Regions from separate parts of the Homo sapiens genome. Here region 2 is linked to region 1. Evidence: promoter capture Hi-C in 16 types of primary human blood cells and fetal thymus (Javierre and others, 2016). All regions are on one chromosome and are shown on one strand. The core of a region is centred on a gene start or on the middle of the fragment in contact, and the rest is flanking DNA. Distances in the headings are between cores, read along the strand shown.

Region 1 (7,132 bases), core at 1,692-4,191:
ATCTATGCTTCTGAAACTAGGGTAGGTATACTCGAACAGCATTCTAATCAACTCAGAAAACAAAAGTCACAGTAAATATTGAAAACAATGGAAAGCAATTTAAAATATCTCAAACAAGACTTACCACTTAATAGACTTTATATTAAGCATAATTGTTTGACATAAACCATTACACATGCACATTTCCTGCTTTGTGAAGTGTTCTTGGTACTAAATCTGTATCCTTTTCTATGTAAAGAAATTTATTTCTTGACTTGAAGAGTATGTATTTGAAGTGATCAAAAATACTACTTTACAGGCACCTCACGATAAGTTCCTAATTATAAATGTATTCATAAACACAGGTTTTATTTTTCATTCTTTATCAGAAACCCAAATTATTCTGAAATGGGGGATTTTCTTCGACTTCACTACCTGTGCTCTGGGGTAGGAAGTTGGGGATAATTGGTTTCAGAAATTTGAACTTATTTGACCTGGAGCCTCCAGTCACACACACCTCATAGTGGTAGCTCTGGGACAGGGTCCCGGTGCCACTCACGTCCACCAGATGTCCTGGAAAGGGGCCCTCAGGCACCGAGCAGCGACCGACCGGGGCCGCCCTGCTCCTCCTGCACAGCCGCACCGCCACGAACAGGAGCACCGAGAAGAGGAAGAGCGACGACACTGAGGCCAACGCCACCACCAGGTAGACAGTGAGCGAGTCGGCCTGGGCCTGGGCCGGGGCCGCCTCCGGGAGAGGCAGGTAGGGCTGGGAGAAGCCGTCCACCAGGAGCACGTGCAGCGTGGCGGTGGCCGAGCGCGGAGGCTCGCCATTGTCCTTGACCAGCACCACCAGCCTGTGCTTGGCCGCGTCGCGCTCGCTCAGCAGCCTGGCGGTGCGCACCTCGCCATTGTGCGCCCACACGCCGAATAGCCCGGGCTCCGTGGCCTTGAGCAGCTGGTACGACAGCCAGGCGTTCTGGCCCGAGTCACCGTCCACCGCCACCACCTTGGTCACCAGGTAGCCCGGCTCGGCCGCCCAGGGCACCAGCTCGGTGCAGGGCGCGGAGCCGTTCTGCAGCGGGTACAGCACGAAGGGCGAGTTGTCGTTGGCGTCCAGCACCAGCACGCGCACCAGCGCCTCGCTGCTCAAAGCCGGGGAGCCGTGGTCTGTGGCGCCCACGCGGAACTGGAACCCCTGCAGGGCCTCGTAGTCCAGCGACCTGAGGGCAAACAGGTGGCCGTTGTCCGCGTTGATGGAGACCAGGGAGGCGAGGGGCAGGTGCGGGTCCTGGGACGGCAGCAGCGAGTAGTTGACCTGGGCGTTGGTGCCCGAGTCTCTGTCTGTGGCGCTGATGCTGCCGATGTGCAGGGCGGGGCTGTTGTTCTCGCGGACGAACAGGGCGTAGGAAGTTTGGGTGAAGGCGGGGGCGTTGTCATTGACGTCGGAGACCAGCACGGTTATGTTGTGCTCGGTTTTTAGCCTGGGGGTCCCCAAGTCGGTGACGGTGATGGTGATGTTGTACTCGGCTCTGCTCTCTCTGTCCAGCGGTCTCTCTGTTTCCAAAGTGTAGTAATTATTTACCGAAGATTTTAGCACGAATGGGATGTCCTCCGGGATAGAACAAACCATCTTTCCGTTGTCCCCAGAGTCTCTGTCTCGTATCCTGAAAACCATAACCACAGTCTCTGGAGTGTTTTCTGGGATTGGACTGGTAATTGATGACACAGTGATTTCAGGAGCGTTGTCGTTTACATCCATCACCTGAATTCTGACTGTAGATTTTCCAAAAAGTCCTCCCCCATCTGTGGCTTGAATGATTATTGAGTATGACTCAATTGCTTCAAAATCCAAAGGTGCTGTTAAAGTAATGTCACCAGACTTTTGATTAATTTCAAATGTCTTGCGAATATCTTCTGAGGCATGGGAAAAGGTATAGGATAGTTCACTGTTTGTTCCAGAGTCTAAATCCCAGGCTGAGACGGTCACAACCAGGGAGCCAAGGATGCTATTCTCCAGAATCTTCACCTCATAAAAAGCCTGCTCAAACTCAGGGGAGTTGTCATTAATATCTACAACCACCACCCTGACCAAGGCAGTTCCAGACCTGGGAGGGGACCCGCCATCCAGAGCAGTGAGGATGAAACTGAGCTCCGGGCGCTCTTCATAATCCAGCGCCTTGTCCAGAACTAACTCAGGGTATTTCCTATTGTCTGGATTGACTCTTATTTTAACGTGGAAATGAGAGTTCGGATTTATTGTGTAGCTTTTTACAGCATTGATTCCTACATCTAAATCCTTTGCACTTTCAAGCAAGAACACAGCACCAACAGGACTGTTCTCTGGGATTTCTAAGAGCATTTCTTTTTCCAAGAAGACGGGAGAGTGATCATTTATATCCCTGACCTGGAGCTCAATTTGTAAAAACTGCGTGGGGTTTTTCATTAACACTTGGAAATACAGCACACAAGGCTCATTGGAGCCACAGAGCTCCTCCCTGTCTAGCATTTCTCTCAGGAGCAAATCCCCAGTGTTTGTGTCCAGCTGCAAACACTCTTTGTTATCATTAGAAACCACCCGAGCCCCCCGCGAAGACAGCTCACTCACCTCGAGTCCCAGGGTCTTTGCCAAATTTCCTACAAAGCTCCCGCTCTGCAATTCCTCCATCACCAAAAAGTTCCCAGTTTCAGAGCCCGCCTGAGACATTCCCAGCAAAACAAAGAAAAGCAGGACTTGCCTTATCTGCAGAGTGCCTGCCCCTCCGTTTTCCATAGCTTCTTTTCCAAAACCCCAAAATCTTCTTGCAGAATTGCCTCAGCGCCTCTTCGCAGTTGTGGGAAACGTGCCTCTGATCTGTCTACCAAATCCTCGGAAGCCTGAAGATTTTAACCTTGTTGAATGGCTTCTAGGTTCTCCCTTAAAGGATTGTTCTTTCTGTCTTCCCAGTTCTCCGCGTGTACTGGATAACAGGGTCTACAACATCCTCCAGGGTAATTTTTTTCTTGATATTATCCTGCAGCGCCACCACGCGTCTCCACAGATTTTCACAGTTTGATGAACACTACCTAAATTTTATTTACATAAATGTCCTCCAGAAGCAAATAAATATTGCGTTTAAATAATTCCTTCTGTTGAAGTAATTAAAAATATATTTTATCTTCCATAATAATCGTTTTATATTCTTTATAGTTTGTGATGATGATTTTGTTTTAAAGCATTTATTCAGTGTCTTTCCCCACTCTTCTCACAACCAAATGTGTTCAGTTGTGGTAAACACAGATACAAGATGTGATCCCTGGCTCCCAGGAATTCATAGTGTTTCTGAGACAATTGTAAGCCTGAAACAAGCAGGGTATAAGTGATTGTTAAGCTGAATGAAATTCTATTACTACTTGGCTTTCCTTACGTGATAAGGTAAAGGAAAGGTCATCTCAGAAATCCTTTCTGAAGTTATGAAACTGGATTAACCATGAGATGAGGCATATATAGGTCAACACAACAGCATAAAAAGGCACTTCTGTAGATTTCCTTAATAGCAATGAATTGTGAACAGGCAGAAAATGAAGCAAGAGATTGGGGTGGAACATGTTATGTAAACCCATCATTTAGTTCCAGTTTTTCATAATTTACAAAAAAATTCATAAGTACACAAGCATGAGCAAGTTAGTTTAATTTAAAGCAGACTCTTATTCCTAAAGCTGACTTGCCTTAGGTTCCCAAAATTTATTGTAGCCACAACTGTAGCTATCTGTTTTCTCTTTCAGCCCAGGAAGAGAAAGTAAGAGTCTATCCCTAAACATAGAACAAAAACCTAACTTTCACTCTAATTAGACCAAGTAAGATCATGTGTCTGCCACTGAAGCAATCATTGTTTCAAGAGGTATAGAATTATAGTTGGAGATTTTAGTCCTAGAATCTAAAGACCTGTCTCTGGCCATTACTGTGTTTTAATCCTGTCTGGGACCACCTCTTAAGCTTGGGAAGGTTTCAGTCCTAGCCAAAGTACCTCATTGGTACAAAATGAGGGAGACTGTTTGCAACAGATGCTAAGGGCTCATCAGTGATATTCACTATAGAAAGTCTTAAAGTGCACTAAGAATGGATGGGAGAAGAATCCAACAAGTCTGCATTTTAAAATGTTAAATTCAATTAATATTCTTAAAAATGTAAGCTGGATACATGGTTGAAATAGTAATTGGTACAGAAGGGTAAAACTTGAAAAGTAGATGAATTGAGCACACACAATTAACCTCTCTTTTTAAAAAAAAATATGCACTAAAATGGCAGAAAAGTAATTAAAATGGTAGGAACTAACAAAGATTAAGAATACACAAGTGAACACATACATTTTTCTATGACAGAAAGCAGGTGGAAGAGCAATTAACTTAGCAGTTCCAAAAAGTGCCCCTAAAGTAAAGTTCCTGCATTGAAGATACTCACAAGAAACATAATCTCTTTTAAGCGCAAGATCTGGAGGAACCAGATGTTTAAGAAGACTGAAGTCAGTTAAGGATGGAAAAAAGTTATTAGTTGGAAGTATGTGTAGAGGATAATTGAATTCTCTGTTCTTCTCATCACCCTACATAGATGGAAACATAACTCACAGCCAGAAAATAGAAAGTTTATTCTCTGGAGAAATTTAATGGGACTTTCTCTAGTCTTGGGGATCTAGGCACAGCTGAGCACAAGTGTGAGGTGTCAAACTGAAAATAGGGAGAGTAAGCAAACCTTTGCATTTTGCATGGTGAGACTTCTAATCCCTTTTCATGCAATACTCTTAGACTGTAGGACACAAAGTGTATGCCTGACCCCTAGTCTATCCCCATAGTGTATATTGTAGAATTCTAACCTGGAGAATATGAAAGCCCAAATGAAGACACATATTAATATTTGGCATCTCATAAGGTAATAGACTTATCCTAGCATGGTTATATTAGAATGAAGCCCTGCCATCAACAGGTACTGTTCGCTCACAGAGTTGATTGTCAGCATTTTGATATATCATCCTTCTAAAATACGAGAAGATAGCCAAGGCATTTGAGGAAATGCCTGCAACATAACATAGAAAGACCAAAACTACCACCATCGCTACCATCAAGAAAAAAAAAAGGAACAATAATATAGAAAGCAGAAGAAAGCCTTTGAAAATGTCTGGTTAATATTCCCAGAGAAAGAAAATCTAATAAAAGCTAATACTTATTTAGTATTTACTCTATGCTACTCATTGTTCTAAGTGCCTCATAATGCATTTATCCATTTAATCTAAATAGTAGCTGTATGAAGTATGTATTTATCCACTTAATCTAAATAGTAACTATATGAAGTACATATTCCTATTGTAAGATGAAGACTAGATTAGGACTTCAGTGCTTTTTACTAGCTATATTACCTTGGACAAGTTCTTAACTCCCCTTAGACTCACTTTCACTTTTAAAATGGATATATAATAATGATACTGCCTAATGCATTTTTAAAGAAAAGATTAATTATAAATGAGAGAAAATATTACATTTATAAATCTATGACAGGATGCCATGAAAAACATTCAGAGAACCAAAAACAACTCTTAAAAGTAAATATTTTTCAGTCATAAAGAAAAACTTATACATAAAACATTGAGTGATTAAATAAATTGTCCAAAAAATGGAATGAGAGGCAAAGAGAAAATAAGAAAGGAAAAATGGCTTATAGTCTTATAGAGTCAATCTAGGAGGTCTAATATTTAACTGAGATTTTCATTGAAGTGAGAATCCAGAAAACTCAGAGGAGAAATTATGAGTAAAACATACCAAGGAAATTCCTTTTAACAAATTGTTTTTGTGTAGAGATAGGTTCCCACTATGTTGCCCAGGGTGGTCTCAAACTCGGGGCCTCAAATAATCCTGCCTCAGCTTCCCAAAGTACTGGGATTGCAGGTGTGAGTCACCATGCCCAACCAAAATTTCTCAGAAATAAAATTGATAGTCTGAACATTAGCCAAGGGGTCTAGCACATGCCTGTAGTCCCAGCAACTTGGAAGGCTGAGGCAGAAGTAGCTCTCGAGTTAGAGCTTGCAGGGTGCTGTGATTGTGCCTGTGAATAGCCACTGCACTCCAGCCTGGGTAACACAGTGAGACATCATCTTAAAAAAAAAAGAAAAGTTAAACATGAACAGGGCATAGCGATATAACCAGATTAATCAATAAAGAGCCAGTACTAAGGTATTTTCAGAAGACCAGGGGAATTTTTTTCAATGCTCACAGAAAGAAAGAAAAAAAGGGGGGGAATCACATAAAAAGACATAGGAATCAGAATGGAATCAGTCTTCTGAACAGCAATTCTATATGCAGTCAATAAAAGGAGCAGTGCTTTTGAAATCTGAGGGAAAATTATTTTCAACCTAGAATGTTATGCCCAAACTATCAATCAAATAAAAAAAAAGAAAATAACAAAGCAAGCTCTCAAAAAGTTTTATTTCCTCTGTATCCATTTTTATGAAGGTACTGAGAGATGTGCATCAACAAAATAAGTGAGTAAACTAAGAAAGAAGAATGTACTGGATCTTATAAAAAAGGACCAACAAAGAAAAATATTTTTTAAAGTCCTAGGGTGACAGCCTATAGAGCAACCAGTATGAATGAAGTAGAGATCTGGGTGCAAGATCACCAAGAAATAAACATAATTGACAGGTATCTGATATATTTGAATATTTTGAGAAGAAAGAGATTCAAATTAGAGAATGTAAAGAAACTAATATTAGTAAATGGAAAATTATGTAAGTACAAAACAATTTTCAGTTCTAGGAAAAATGTTTCTCAAGAAAGGAAATTTAATCACACTACACTAATGTGTATTTTGAAGAAAGCTTAGCAATATGGACACTATTAGTTTAACTTAAAAAAAACTGTAGGCTGGGCACTGTGGCTCACGCCTGTAATCTCAACACTTTGGGAGGCTGAGGCAGGAGGATCAGCTGGGGTCAGGAGTTCAAGACAAGCCTGGCCAACATGGTGAAACCCCATCTCTACTAAAGCTACAAAACTAGCCAGGTGTGGTGGTGGGTGCCTGTAATCCCAGCTATTCAGGAGGCTGAGGCAGGAGAATCACTTGAACCTGGGAAGCAGAGGTTACAGTGAGCTGAGATCACACCACTGTACTCCAACCTGGGCGACA
Region 2 (7,132 bases), core at 1,369-3,868, 250 kb after region 1:
GGTAGAAGGATCAGAGGAAATCTTTCCATGCTGTGTCATTGCCTCTGCTGCTCAGTTCTGAATATTCACTCTTCCCAGGTTCTCACATTTCTTCCACAGGAATTTGAAATCTATTGCCTCATGTGCAAAAAAAGCACTCACTAAAACGTCCTTTCTCTTCATCTCCCAGTATTCTGTCATCTGTAGATCTTCCTCTATGGGTCATTTTCTAGCTATGGACTGGAACAAAGTCAGAGTGAGACCTGACATTTGGCATGCTTCCCTCCTAGAGCGGACAGTTAAAGGAGCCAAGGTTGTGATCCTGACACCCAGAATTCAAAGGCCTGAACTAGCACATCCCTTCGTTCCACCAACCAAGCACACTCACTATCAATGCTCCACTACCTAGCCAGTGTTATTCCAGAGAAGCGCCCAGCCTCCTATCACTGCTGCTTCTTATTTGTCCTCTTTGTTTCCTCAAGGGTACAGAGTAGGAAGCAATTTTCATCAAAATCTATTCCTGTCTCCTTTCTTGGGTCTCTGGCTTCTTCCTCTTCTCTCTGCATCCTCCCCAAACATCCCTACAATAATTCTGTCTCAGTTTGCTGTGGTAATTTGATCTCGGAGGCCTTAATCTCTCAAGTGCACAAATTGTGGACCTGGCCTGTGTCCTCACCCATTACTTGTTTCTGAAAATAAATGGCTTATAAGTGGAATCAAGTTGTAAGTTGTCATGAAAAGTGATCTTTCCTCCCCTTATCTCCTCCCAGCCCTCCAAGTCGCTGCCATCTCTGCACGCAGCTCAGAGACCTGGCCACTGGGTATTGACCAGGCATAGACCTGTGACTGTGAAAAAATCATAGGCACTTAAGGAAGAGATTACAGTGGCAGAGGCTTGGTAATTTTTTAATGGAAGCCCCCAAATGTCATGTCTTGGGAGAAAAACCAGGACTCTCCTTTCAGCACTCTTGTCATCTTCCAGCAAGGACACCTGCCAGGTTGTCCATTATGCTGTTTTAGGCCTTGTAGGTATTTAGCTCCAGCTAGAATTTACTGCCTTAATTATTAAGGAGTCAAATATAAAGCCAACACAATCAGCCTCATTTTGAAAGACATTGTACTAAAGAGATGGTATACTCTATTTGGCACTATAATGATTTCGTTCCTCACACCATTATACTGAGGCTCCTGCCAACCTTACTAGTTGTTAGAATGTGATTGCTCAGACTGTTGTTAATTACCCTTTCTACAAATATTAACACTAATGCCTTGACCACACCATTATGCATTCCTTTCCTTGGACCTTCAAGAGCTCTCTATTAAAAAGTAGAACACAGTAATTAGGAATATAGACTTTGGAGTCAGTCACACTCCTGCCAGTGACTAACTGTTTGGCTATGGACATGTTACTTAGCCTAAGCTTCACTTTACTCATTTTAATTAAGGAAAACAATAGTAAGCAAAACTCATACGGTTATTATTATGATTACATGAGAAAATGTATGTAAAGCAATTTGCACAGTGACTAGTTAAGTACATTATTGTTGTTGTTGCTGTCGTCATGAAATACAACAATTTATTATCATCAGATAAAACCTTAGTTGGCAGTCTATATGTAGCATGGCCCTTTAGATATCAAACACGGATAAACACATTTAACTATGCCATATAGGAAATCAACCATGATAGGGAAGATGCGTATGCAACAAAGTTAAGCTTTCCCAATTACGTCTAGAACTATATCCTACATTTTGAGAACAAAACCAGAAAACAGCCCCTTTTTATATCATGAAGTAAATGGGACTTCTGTTATGAGAACCCCTTCAAGAGATTTGTTTCCTCACAAGAGATTTACCTTTTTAGAAAACACAGAAATACTTTAGCAACAGAGTATGAAGTTAGTTCCTAAACATGCTGTAATCTACAGCATCCAGTAGGGAGCTTGGCACAGAGGTGCTCAATTAATGTTCTTTGAAAAGAACTAAATTTACAAATTTATCTGTGTAATTCTAATACAAACAGCTTCTTATTTTCTCTCCTCCTTATAAAATCTTACATACATTTCAAAGTCCAGATGAAAACCTACCTAATCCATCAAACAGTGTCTACTCTAAACACGAGGTTTTTTTTTTCATTTTCACAGTCTACAGCATATCTGTAAGATGGCATGTGTCATTTTTAAATTCATCCAAATAATTTAATATTATCTCTTTAATTATAAGCAACCTGAAAGCAGGAGCCATGTCTTATATTTCTGTCTCCTTCACAATGTAGAAACCCTTATAGACTCTCAATAAATGTTAATTGCTTCATTTTCTTCAGATCTTATTTTTAGTAAACTCAAGCTGCTACAGAAAAATTTCCTATATAGGGATAGAGCATATCTTATGGAGAGGAGGTTGAGAAGTATCTGTCAAATAGGGAAGGAGCTAGTTTTCATTTTTTAATTCATGTATTTATGTTGCTCTACAAACCGAGCACAAGTTATATAATAAAAAAGAGACAAATGGTCATCTCTGATGTTTAGAGTTGTCCAAAGTAGTTTTTAAAAATTCCATCTTGTTAAAAACGAATAGGATTCCTGATCTTCATGCATCCCCAGAAGGAAAATACTTTCCAATATGATTATAGCATTATTTACAGATAAAACATCCAGTGGATGGGAAGATGAAAAAGTTTTCACATAACTTGATGGCTAAATTTTTTCACATCTCCCTTCCTCCAGAAGAAATATATCAGTCAAATATTTGGCATTAACAATTGGCTTTTAGGGGGAGATCCTCTACATTTTTAGTTCTAAAAAACTAATATATTATTGATAGTTGGCTGAGGTGTCTGAAAATTGCTTAGAATAAACAAAGAGATTCAAGCCATAAGAGATTCAAGCCATCTTTGGATAAGTAACAATAAAAAGGGAGAGACAGGTTTGGGGCAGATTGCGTAATATTAACAGATAAAATCAAACTAGCCAGTATTGGGGGGAGTTTTACTTCTTTATCAGTATTCTCAATTGAGATGGCCTAACAAGAATCATAGAATATTAAAGGTTGAGGTTTTTTAAATTATAAAATTATTTTTCATTGAAGAAAATGGTTAAGTGAAACTTGAACCTCAAGATCAATAAGGAGATAGGAAGCATAAAAGTGATATAAGTGGCCGGGTGTGGTGGCTCACGCCTGTAATCCCAGCACTTTGGGAGGCCGAGGCCAAGGTTAGGAGATCGAGACCATCCTGGCTAACATGGTGAAACCCCGTCTCTACTAAAAAATACAAAAAAATTAGCCAGGCATGGTGGTGGGTGCCTGTAGTCCCAGCTACTCGGGAAGCTGAGGCAGGACAATGGCGTGAACCCAGGAGGCGGAGGTTGCAGTGAGCCGAGATCATGCCACTGCACTCCAGCCTGGGCAACAGAGCGAGACTCCATCTCAAAAAAAAAAAAAACTGATGTAAGTAAGTCAATTATCTGTGGCCAGATAAATGATCTTCCAAGGCACTGAAATAACTTACAGATGTGACTAGAGAACCCAATTTCCTATCTTTTAAAAAGTGCCATTAAGCTTGATATAAATTCCTTCAAAACTGTAATATTACTAAAGTGATTGTTTATGAGCACTTAGAAATGAAGGCATTCATACTAAGGACTACTCCGGCTTAATTAAAAACTGGTAACTTCAAACTAACCACATAGACTTAAGATTGTTTTTCATATGGGCACTTTAGTTTCATTTACTAGAATCATTGCCAAAATAAATGCTTATCAAAACAAAATTTAAAAAAAGAAATGCTGCAGGAACAGTCTATCTAGAATTTGTGGAGACATTAAACAAAGTCTCCCAATATACTCACGTGGACAAGACAAAAAAAGAAAGGCAGCTGCAAGACAGTGTAGTTAGGTGATTTTGTAATTGTTTAAATAACATGCCAAAAAGTGTTTACTAATGGAATAGTTCAAACTAGAAGGAGAATTCTAATGGGGACTACAGGGATCCACTCTTGGTCTCTCAAGAAACAGAGCCTGGTAAATCATGTTCTTTAACCTCAAGAAACAGAGCCATGGTAAAAAGAAGCTTCCTGGAGCTTCGGATAAATTCCATCACCTTTTTGGGACCCAGTTTCTTCATCAATACCAACCTCACTAGGGTCCTGTGAGGAGTACATAAGGTTAGATATGTACTGAAATAATATGCCAACTCTTAAGTGCCAAGACATTAAGATGCAAGGGGGTTGGGTGACCAAAAAGTCAACAATTACTTGATACTCCAGATATCCCATTCAACATTTTGTTAATGACTCAAAACAAGGAGGTAGCAAGTGTCCATGCAGTCCAGCAGCAAATTGAGCATTTTTGGAACAAGAATTGCAACTGCCTAGGTTAAGCTATGTTTCTAATTCACTAAACTTAGTACCAATTTTCTATCTGAAACTCAAGATATGCCCCAAATTCATTAGTGTGTATTTCAGCTAATTTCTGGCTTATAGTTGCCATTAAACCTGTTCCAAGTTTCCATTCATCACTTGGGACCTCTTATTTTAATAGAAACCTTGTTTGGCCCTATTTCTCCTCTGTAACTCTTGGGATTTTAGCCATGGACTAAAATCATGGACTAAAATAAGATGAGTATTTGGCACTAAAGAACACCCTCATTCCCAAGTAGGTTTTAGCCAAAGCATTCATTGATTTGGATAGGGGTTTTAAAAATATATTTCAAAAACACACTAGATATTGTTGAAGTACCTTGAATTTGAACTGTTTTCCAACTGTTTTCCTAAGCTCAGTCTATATGAAGGCCACAGTTTCTCTTTCCTATACCCATTATGTTTGCTGCTTGGAACAAACAAACCTACACCTCTGTGTAAGAAGGATTACTTCTCAAAATTATCCATACATATATCTAGAGTATCAAGTAATTGTTGACTTTTTGGGCACCCCCCCTTGCATCCTAATGTCTTGGCACTTAAGAGTTGGCATATTATTTCAGTACATATCTCACCTCATGTACTTCTCACAGGACCCTAATGAGGTTGGTATTGATGAAGAAACTGGGTCCCAAAAAGGTGACGGAATTTATCAGAAGCTCCAGGAAGCTTCTTTTTACCATGGCTCTGTTTCTTGAGATCCTGAAATAACATCTGACCACTACACATGCAACCCCTAACTTAAGAATTGTATTATCAGTCTCAAGCTATTAATATCTAAGTATTTCATAAGGAATACTATTGTTCCCACAACTACAAGTTTCTTTCTCTTTTAGAAACTTCAATTGAATCTTCTGTACATGTTTTTAATAATAAACAGCCGGACTTAACAAAATCATGATGCAAAATAGATTTGTATTTCATATCCCAACTTCTTCTTTCAGTAACATCTACCTCCTACCTATGATATTCTGCCTAAGTAATGGGGCTTTACAAATGGCTTTGATTTTTCTGATATAAATCCCACTCGTGTATTCCTTGACAGATTTTGCTACATAATTCCTTTAGCAGTTACAGGCATAATACATTATCATGTGGGTAAAATATAAATCCTCTAAATTAGCCATGTTAATATACACTGTTCTTACTGAATATTAAAATATACTTTAAGGCATTTTGATGAGATAATGTTATCTAAAAATTTTCCCTTTCAAAGCTCATTTTATTGAAATTATTTAGAAATGATTTACAAATTCTTCAATTTTGCTTCTGTGTTTTTTCTCTCTTTTTTTCTATCACAAGCAAGAAAAGCATGTTATACTTGGCTGATAGAATTGAAACAAAAAATCTAGTACTGATTCTATTTATACAGCATCTCTGAATTAATGGTCTTAAAGATCTTAAAATTTTTTAGTTTGATCCATATATAACAATATGCCTTGATTGATGCCAACTTCAGCTTTTCAGCACAAAATAGAAAAAAATACACAAATTCTCAGATCAATCAACACTTTATCTTAATTTGTGACTTTTTTTTTTGAGACAGGGTCTCACTCAGTTGTCCCGCTGGAGTGCAGTAGCATAATCAAAACTTATTGCAGCTTCAACCACCGGGCTCAGTGATGCTCCCACCTCAGGCTCCTGGGTAGCTGGGACTACAGTCATGCACTATCATGCCCAGATAATTTTTGTATTTTTTGTAAGGACAGCATTTCACCATGTTGCCCAGACTGGTCCTGAACTCCTGGGGTCAAGCAATCTGCCCACTTTGGCCTCCCAAAGTGGGCTCACCTCGCCCACCTTCGGACCCCTGCTGAATGTCCGAAACCAAGGATAATACTGAATTCTATATATACTGCATTTTTTCCTATACATACATACCCATGATAAAGCTTAATGTATAAATTAGGTACAGTAAAAGATTAGCAACAATAACTAATAATAAAATAGAACAATTATAATAATATAATATTATTACAAGTATGAGCCACCACACCCAGGCAGACTTTTCTGTATCTATTATATAGCTACTGGTCAATTCTTTTATAAACCCAGTAAACCAAAGACACTGGAATGATAACTTTAAGATATAAAAATTAAAACAGAATGGTGTGATAATTTACTAGAAATAGAAAGTTGATTTCAAACAGAAATGGGTAAAAATCTCCTTTCTCTCTTTCCCATTCAGTGTTACATTTATTATAACAGAGTTGTCACTCTAGGATATTCAATATCCTTTATAATTAAAATTTCATCATAGCTTTCTGTGATTGGTTTTCTGCAGTACTCTCAAGCTGGACTAGTATTCCTTTGATCCAATTATCATAAGCTCATTTAAAATCTCAACTGTGTATGAAACATTTATTGGTTCATAAATCAATGTACACATAGTATATATTGGACAGCCATGCCTCCTAGGATATGTGGACTTAGTGCTCTTTAAGCCAGCAGAAGTTGAAGAATAAAAGGTATTTTTAAATTATAAAAAGTGCTTCTTTCCAAGCATCAGTGATAATGTTTGATGACCTGTTAAGAAAATAGCAACATTCCTGATAAAGTCAGACTGTGAACTTCCTGTGATTTATTTATTTTTTGAGCTCTAATTTATTTTAATTAAGTTCAATAATATTTAAAATATATACTTCTTGTACCAAATTAAATTTGTTCAGAATTGTTAAAAACAATGAAAGTCCTTTAAAATCTAATTCCCTTGTATACTAGACCAGTAACAGAAAAT

The links. Contacts are between HindIII fragments. The CHiCAGO score rates a contact against its expected background, and 5 or more counts as called.
Region 2: a fragment that was not itself captured here is called in contact with the fragment with the promoter of PCDHB12 in region 1 in 1 of 17 cell types (M2 macrophages); the score reaches 5.0 in M2 macrophages.

The regions. Positions count from the first base shown.
Region 1 is chr5:141,204,528-141,211,659 of GRCh38, reverse strand. It overlaps PCDHB12 (protocadherin beta 12), which reads right to left and starts at 2,941. Exons shown (of 1, transcript NM_018932.4): 1 at 1-2,941. The coding sequence starts at 2,752. The coding sequence ends at 365. It also overlaps PCDHB@. RefSeq lists an enhancer at 920-1,509. The HindIII fragment of the contact is 7,272 bases long and covers 1-3,957 here.
Region 2 is chr5:140,958,176-140,965,307 of GRCh38, reverse strand. All of the region lies in intron 1 of PCDHA1 (protocadherin alpha 1), which reads right to left. The region is part of intron 1 of PCDHA2 (protocadherin alpha 2); the gene reads right to left. All of the region lies in intron 1 of PCDHA3 (protocadherin alpha 3), which reads right to left. All of the region lies in intron 1 of PCDHA4 (protocadherin alpha 4), which reads right to left. It also overlaps PCDHA5, PCDHA6, PCDHA7, PCDHA8, PCDHA9 and PCDHA10, and 5 more genes. Among named protein-coding and RNA genes, the nearest start is that of PCDHAC2, 4.7 kb to the left of the region's middle. The HindIII fragment of the contact is 1,841 bases long and covers 1,698-3,538 here.